Regions from separate parts of the Homo sapiens genome. Here region 1 is linked to region 2. The links are contacts of gene promoters, found by promoter capture Hi-C in human tissues and cell types (Jung and others, 2019). All regions are on one chromosome and are shown on one strand. Each heading gives the region's core, a stretch centred on a gene start or on the middle of the fragment in contact. The rest is flanking DNA. Distances are from core to core; before and after follow the strand shown. Region 1 holds the start of NDUFV1 (NADH:ubiquinone oxidoreductase core subunit V1). Region 2 holds the start of RPS6KB2 (ribosomal protein S6 kinase B2).

Region 1 (3,902 bases), core at 1-2,500, 180 kb before region 2:
GGCGTAATCTCAGCTCACTGCAAACTCCACCTCCCAGGTTCAAATAATTCTTGTGCCTCAGCCTCTGGATAGCTGGGATTACAGGCACTCACCACCACGCCCGGGTAATTTTTGCACTTTTAGTAGAGACAGGGTTTCACCATATTGGCCAGGCTGGTCTCGAACTCCTGACCTCAAGCGATCCGCCCGCCTCAGCCTCCCAAAGTGCTGGGATTACAGGCGTGAGCCACCGCGCCCGGCCATTAGTAAGCATTTTGTTTAGCAGGTACTGGATGGAAGCATTTTACATCCAAAATCCCATTTCATCCTCATAAGAACTCTGATAGGAACGATTTTCTCTGTTTCACAGAGGAGAAAACTGAGGCTTGGAGCAAAAGGAGCTTATGGAAGGTCTCACAGTCAAAAGCAGCAGGTCCAATTTGAGCCCAGGTCTGTCGGTGGCCAAACCCACAGCTGCATCACGGCACCACACAGCCCCACAAGCCGAGTGTGGCAGCTTGGCCCTTTCCCGGCCTGGCTCCCCTGCTGGACCAAAACTTGGGTAGGCCAGGGGCCTTTTATATTCCTACCTCGGCCGAAGAGGCGAAATGTGTTTACTGATGGGAAAGAAATGCCTCCTTAACACACAGGTGATGGAGGGGCTCACTTAGGATGAAATGAGGAGCCCCACGACCCAGTGGAGAGCGCACCAGCTGAGGGCGACGGGATTCCCATCCTTTTAAGAGCACTTTTCAGCCACTTCAGGGCGCAGAGCAGTGGACGGGAAATCAGGAGGTGCGCATCCCTAAATGGGGCAATGACCCCTTCACGCCCTACAAGGCTGTGACAAGGAGAGAATGAAAGACTAGGGGTCTTCACAACCTGCAAAACTTCCGCCAGGCCGAGGACTGTAAAACAAGGGAAGCCAGCAAGTCAGAGGGTCAAGGGAGTCGGCCCCGCGTTGGGACCCGTTCCCCTACTTCAACCAGGCCGGAGCGGGGGCCTTCCCGCCTGGCCTGGGGAGAAGGGCTCTCCAGAGGCCACTACAGACCCCAGGGACTGCTCGTGCACGGGCGCGGCCGCGACACCCGGCCCCAAACACCCGTGGCCCCAGCCAGGCTGGGCCTCACCGTGTCGCCGCTGAAACGCACAGATACCCGCGCGGGAAGCGACCAGCCGAGCAGCCGCCGTGTTGCCAGCATCGCGGCGGGCCAGATGGGTCACCTCACGCTGTCACCTTCATAGCACTGAGGCTGAGGAACTGGCGCGATAGAGACGCTAGGTGGCGCGCAGGAAAGACGTCACGCGCCCGACGCCAGCGCCGCGCACCGGTATCGCTGCGCCCCTTCAACTTCGCCAGCGGCCCCGCCTCCTCGGGGGAGGACTGAGAGGCCAGTGCCTTGGCGCCGGGGCTTCTGGGAGATGTGGTCCCACCGGCCTGGGGTCCGCCTTCCTCCCTCCACCGGGCTGGCATTTAGCGGTGGCTGTCCCCACCGCTCGCTCTTTCGCTCCCTCCTTAGCTCGCCGGCTCCCAGCCTTTGATGCCACAAGTAAACAAACCTCGCATGTCGCCTTCTGCTGGGTCCTGGTGTGTTCCACTTTCTATAGATTCGGCGTTTAGTGTGCACCTGCGGTATGCATCGGTGTATCATGGGAGGAGTGAAAAGTCAGGCAGGTCATAGCCCGATCCTCATGACTACGTTGCAATTATTCTGCCCAGTGCGAGCCCTGCCAGACTGTGGGCTTCCCCACCCCGGGCGTCCGTGTGCTCGAGGAAGGATTGCAGACTCCAAGGCAGGGGGTTGTTCGCGGAGTTCTTCCCAGAGGGCCTGTCACGGAATCCTAGGCTGGGGTGAGGCAGAGAGGATGCAGATGGTCAGTGCACGGCACAAACTCTTGCTGGCGCCGCTGAGTTCTCTCAGCTCTTGTCAGGAGAGTCCAGCACTTTCTGCTTCTGCCCAAAATCCTGGCATGGTCCCTGCTGCTTTTGGAATCAGCCACTGGTCCAGGATTTAAGGGCTCTGCGACCCCGTCCTTCGCCAGGGTCATCACGCCCAGGCCACTGCTGTGAACCCCACCCCCGTCCCCCAAGACCCCTTTCTGCCGTCATTAGACTTTAGGGCGTTTGTGTGGCTGTCCCCCTCCCTCGGTTTTCCCCTGACCTGAGGAGGTCCCTCTGTCCTTTGCCTTCCCAGGAGGTCTTGGAAGCCTGATGAACTCGTCTTTTTCAGTTTCCTGGAACCCTCTGCTGTGGTCCTCGTGATAAGAGTGACCTTTTTGGCCTGCTCTCCCCAGCTCTTTTCCAGTCCTCATGGTGAGGAACCATCTCTGTTCTTTTGTGCTGTAATCATCCTTCCTGATCTCTCTAAAACGTGCTGTTTACAAAACTCCTTTGCAGCTATTTTCTCACATACCCCACAGCAGCCCCACAAGGTGTTCACTCCATTTTGTCCACGAAAAAACTGAGGCTCAGGGGGATTTTGTCCTTTGTCTGTGGGCATGAAGCTGCTGAGTGGTGGAGCTGGACTGGAATCTAGGCCTTTCTTCCTTTCCACAGTGCCCCGCACACAGCAAACCCACAGAACAACTGACACGCATGTGACAGTCACTGTGGACGTCAGTGACATTCCCAAGAGAGGCACCAAGAAATCTCTTCCCTGTCTGAGGTTTCCCAGACAGATAGAGTAGTATCAGGCCCAGAGCCCAGGAGTCCTGGCTGCCAGCCGCAGGCCCCCTCTCTTGGTCAGGGAAAGAGGTTGCCTAGGCAAAGCTGGGGATTACACAGCTAATCCGGGCTCAGACCTGAGTCCTCGGATCCCTCCCTTTGGGGCAGAAGAAGGGGGGCAGGTCAGAGCCAGCCCAGCGGGTGGATTCCTTCCTCATCTGTCTCTAACTGGGTCAAAGGAATACAGGCTGAGGGAGATGCAGGTTGGGGATGCTGGGGACAGGAGATGCTGGGCATGAGGGGGGATGGAAAACGGAGAGTGAGGGAAGGATCCTCTGTTCATTCAGTGCCAGGCTCTGGGCCAAGCACTTGCCATGTGTTACCTCCTTAATCCTCCAAAACTCCAGCCTCAGGAATGATGAGCCCTGTTTTCAGAAGCAGGGTATCAGCATTGCTGAGTGGCCTGCCCAGGATGACACAACTGCCAGAACTCGGCCTGAGGTCTCCTAACAACAAATCCCCCACTGGTCCCCACCCACTGGAGCACCTACTTGCCAGGCTTCTCAAGCGAAGAAGGAGATCCACTCTGATGTCATCTCCCAGGAGCCTTCTCTGCAGCATCTCAGGTCCTGGCTCTCACCTCCTCAGCACCCATCCCATCCTGTGTCACTCTGTATATCAGCCTCCCCAGCCAGCCTCCAGGCCACAAGCCAAGAGGTATCAAGGGCTCCTCCCTGTCCCACTGGCCCCACATCCACTGTGTCTATCTGGTCAACTTTACCTTCCAAACATTCCCTGCACAGTGATAGATGGCTGTGGCCCTGTCATCTCTCACCTGAAATTAACAATGTATCCTTGGGGCCTCCCACCCTCACATCTTGGCTCCTCCAGCCCCTTCTCTGCAAACATGGAACAGTGGGATTATTATAAATCTCAGACCCGTTTTGCCCCTTTCCTGCCTGAGAGTTTTTGTGGTTCCCCACTGCCCTCAGAACAAAGCTCAAGACCCTTTGGCCTGGCATTCAAGGTCCTTTGTGCTGCCACCTGTCAACCTCCCCAGTTCCAGCTCCTTTGGCTTTGCCCATACAAGCTGGATCTGCACCAGAGGATCTGTCTTCCTCCCAACTTGGCCCTAGTCCTCCTAGGAGCCCTTTGGACGTCACCTCCCCCAGGAAGCTTTCTGCAACCACCCTACAACCGTCCCTATAAACTTTATAAAACCAATTAGTGTGGGGAAAAGCAAGAGAGATCAGATTGT
Region 2 (3,775 bases), core at 1-2,500:
ACAATACACATCACAACAGACAATAAACCAGCAAACGCCAAAGTCAGGGATCCTCCTCCACTGTGTTCCCTGCTGTCTTCCCAAAGCCTGGTACAGCATGTTGGGAATGGCAGCCACACAGTATTCGTTGGCTGAACGAGTGACTCACCTTCCTTAGGACTTTCATGGCATATATTTTGCCCAAGTTGGTGCCTTGCACCTTTCGCACCTGGAACACCTGTAGGGCAGGGGAGACAGGATCAACTTCCCTCTCCACATCCTATCTTCAAGAAGCCCCACCCTGAAGCTCTGGCTTTGGGATCAGGAGGCCTAGGCCCTGCCAAGGGTGGGGCAGTGAAGATTTCAAGTCCGATTGGAGAGGATTTGGCCTTCCCTCCTTTATGTTTCTGGCTCTGAATCCCATTAGAGGCCCTGCTGATTCACAAGTCTAATTTGTTTTGAGAACCCTTTGCTGCCTCCAGATGGAGGCTGTGAGGCCAGGAGGAGGGTGCGCCCGCCCCTACCTTGCCATAGCCCCCCTTGCCCAGCACACGCAGCAGCTCAAAGCAGTGGGGCCCGATGCGCTCTGGGCCAACGTTCACGCTGGTCTCAGTCAGCTCCACCTCTTCATAGTGTCCCACAGGCCTACGGACACAAGGAGTTAATGAGGACAAGGCTCCAGTGCTCCCCAGTTCCCCTTCCCCACTCCATTCCCCCCTCCCCCAACACGACCCTCACTCACTCTAGGCCAGCTGCCCTCAACTCGGCAAGGGGACATGCGTCCTGTGAGAAACCGAGGGGTAAGAGCCAAGGAAGGTGCCAGGATACCTCCCCGCTCCCGTTCAGGTTGGACTGCGTGGCCCAGGAGAGAAGGGTGTCAGGGATGGCAGCTAGTAGGGGATGGGTAAGAATTGGGAAGAAACCGAAGGCAGGAAAGGGAGAATCGGGAGAAAAGGCTGGGGTTCTGGAAGAGAGGTCGGGGTGAGGGTGGGATCAGAACTTAATAGAGACCGGGATCTGAGAAGGATCTGGGTCTGCAAAGAGTCGGAGCCCGCTCTGGGCGTGCGGAGCCGCCGCTCCGGCCTCGGCTGGGTGACAGGATCGGCTCCAGGATCCAGTCGCGCCAGGGCAGGGCACTCACCGCGGGGCTGAGCTCTGGCTCGCCCTCGCCCTCGCTGCCTTCCTCCGTCTCCAAATCCAAATCAAACACGGCCGCCATGGCGGCGCCGGCCCCGCGGGCCCGTCGGCCCGTACCTGGCCGCGCACTGACTGACAGTCCCGGACCTAAACATCATCTCTCCGCGACGGCAGCTGCGCGCGCCGGTGACGCAAGGGATCTTACTCCCCCTCCGGAAAATCGCTTAGCCTGGTGGGGAACAAAGATGGCTTCCGTCGCAAGGCCTCTCGGGAATTGTAGTCCTAGAGTGGCGAGGCGCCTAGCCTTCAGCCTGCAGAATCCTTTCCGCAGGACCCTCGGTCTTCCCAGCAAGGCTTTCTGGGAGCCCGTTTTGGTTCTACGGTGTTTTGAGTTTGGATGGAGCAGGGTCGGAAGTGTATGCAGGTGTGAATGTAAATGCAATCCCCAGCCCTGTTGGAGACGGGTACTGCCAGGCCGGCTGCGTGATGAAAGGCAGGTCGCGTTGCTTTCGGTTCACTCCAGAAAGGGAGGCGGCTGCATCAGGGTCTCCTCAAAGTGCCTCTGGCTCGAGGACCCTGCAAATCGGAGCATTTACTGAGTGGCCAGCTCACTGCCAGGCTATGTTGCCAGGTTCCCGCCTTAAATAGGGTTTTGGGGGTCAGTGATAGACCTGTAAATATGGGATTTTGTTGGCGTTTACTCCCTTCTTAATTTAAGCACATTTAGGCACCTGGTACAGAATAGACACTTCAAAAAACGTTGTTGAGGCCGGACACGATGCCTCACGCCTGTAATCGTAGCACTTTGGGAAGCCAAGTTGGGAGGATCACTTGAGGCCAGGAGTTCAAGGTTACAGTGAGCTATGATGGTGCCACTGCACTCCAGGCTGGGTGACACAGTGAGATCCTGTCTCAAAAAAACAAACAGGCCGGAGGCGGTGGCTCACACCTGTAATCTCAACACTTTCGGAGGCCGAGGTGGGTGGATCACTTGAGGTCAGAAGTTGGAGACCAGCCTGGCCAACATGATGAAACTCTGCCTCTACTATAAATACAAAAAATTAGACGGGTGTGGTGGCGCGCACCTGTACTCCCAGATACTCGGGAGGTTGAGGCAGGAGAATCGCTTGAACTCGGGCGATAGAGGTTGCAGTGAGCCAAGATTGCACCACTGCGCTCCAGGCTGGGCGGCAGAGTGAGACCAAGTCTCAAACAGATAAAACCCGAAAACCTGGCTGGTCACGGTGGCTCACACCTGTAATCCCAGCACTTTGGGAGGCCGAGCCAGGCGGATCACCTGAGGTCGGGAGTTCAGGACCAGCCTGACCAACATGGAGAAACCCCGTCTCTACTAAAAACACAAAATTAGCTGGGCATGGTGGTGCATGCTTGTAATCCCAGCTACTCGGGAAGGCTGAGGCAGGCGAATCACTTGAACCTGGGAAGCGGAGGTTGCGGTGAGCCAAGATCATGCCATTGTACTCCAGCCTGGGCAACAAGAGCGAGACTCCATCTTAAAAAAAAAAAAAAAAAAAAAAAAAAAAAAAAAAAAAACTTTATGGTTTTTTTTTCTTTGTTTTGTTTAGTTTTTCAGACAGGATCTTACTCTGTCACCCAGGCTGGAGTACAGTGGCAAGATCGTGGCTCATTGCAGCCTTGACTTCTTGGGTTCCAGTGATTCTCCCACCTCAAATCCCAAGTAACTGGAATGACATAATCACATAATCTTTTTTCTTTTCTTTCTTTCTTTCTTTTTTTTTTTTTTTAGAGGGGAGGTCTTGTTTTGTTGCCCAGGAGGCTGGTCTTGAACTTCTGGACTCAAGTGATCCTCCTGCCTTGGCCTTCCAAAGTGCTGTGATTACAGGCATGAGCCACTACACCCAGCAAAAACCAAAAACGCTGTTGACAGAATGAACTTAGGCCAGGCAGGGTCGCTCATGCCTGCGATCCCAGCAATTTGGGAGGCCAAGGCGGGTGGATCACTTGAGGTCAGGAGTTCAAGACCAGCTTAACCAACATAGTGAAAACCTGTCTCTACTAAAAATACAAAAATTAGCCGGGAGTGGTGGTGCATGCCTATAGTCCCAGCTACTTGGGAGGCTGAGGTAGGAAAATCGCTTGAACCTGGGAGGCAGAGGTTGCAGTGAATCAAGATCACGCCATTGCACTACAGCCTGGGCAACAGAGTGAGACTCCGTCTCCAAAAAAAGAAAAAAAAAGAAAGAAGGAATGAACACACTCAACACAGCAAATCTTGTCTGTGACATGTGGTCTGTGACTTTAGATTGGGTATGGATTTGGCGGGGCGCGGTGGCTCACACCTGCAACCCTAGCACTTTGGGAGGTCGAGCCGGGTGGATCGCTTGAGGTCAGGAGTTCGACACCAGTCTGGCCAACATGGTGAAACCCCGTCTCTACTAAAAATACAAAAATTAGCTGGGTGTGGTGGTGGGTGCCTGTAATCCCAGCTACTTGAGAGGCTGAGGCAGAAGAATCACTTAAACCCGGGAGGCAGAGGTTTCAGTGAGCCGTGACTGTGCCATTGCACTCCAGCCTGGGCAGCAAGAGTGAAACTGTCTCAAAAAAAAAAAAAAAGATTGGGTATGGATTCTTATTGGATGGGGATGTGTGGGTGTGAATTTGGGTCAGACCAGGCCTT

What was found. Contacts are between HindIII fragments. The study calls those that stand out against the background at their distance.
Region 1: the fragment with the promoter of NDUFV1 here is called in contact with the fragment with the promoter of RPS6KB2 in region 2 in 1 of the 25 tissues and cell types used here (liver).

The regions. Positions count from the first base shown.
Region 1 is chr11:67,604,284-67,608,185 of GRCh38, reverse strand. It overlaps NDUFV1 (NADH:ubiquinone oxidoreductase core subunit V1), which reads right to left and starts at 1,250. Exons shown (of 10, transcript NM_007103.4): 1 at 1,110-1,250. The coding sequence starts at 1,181. NDUFV1-DT (NDUFV1 divergent transcript) reads left to right here and starts at 1,480. Exons shown (of 3, transcript NR_130935.1): 1 at 1,480-1,567; 2 at 2,175-2,293; 3 at 3,083-3,902. RefSeq lists enhancers at 1,172-1,301, 1,682-1,741, 2,641-3,326. The HindIII fragment of the contact is 16,538 bases long and covers 1-3,902 here.
Region 2 is chr11:67,425,969-67,429,743 of GRCh38, reverse strand. It overlaps RPS6KB2 (ribosomal protein S6 kinase B2), which reads right to left and starts at 1,250. Exons shown (of 15, transcript NM_003952.3): 1 at 1,121-1,250; 2 at 722-762; 3 at 504-624; 4 at 149-217. The coding sequence starts at 1,198. RefSeq lists enhancers at 5-772, 1,207-1,456, 773-1,540, 1,557-1,706. The HindIII fragment of the contact is 10,585 bases long and covers 1-3,775 here.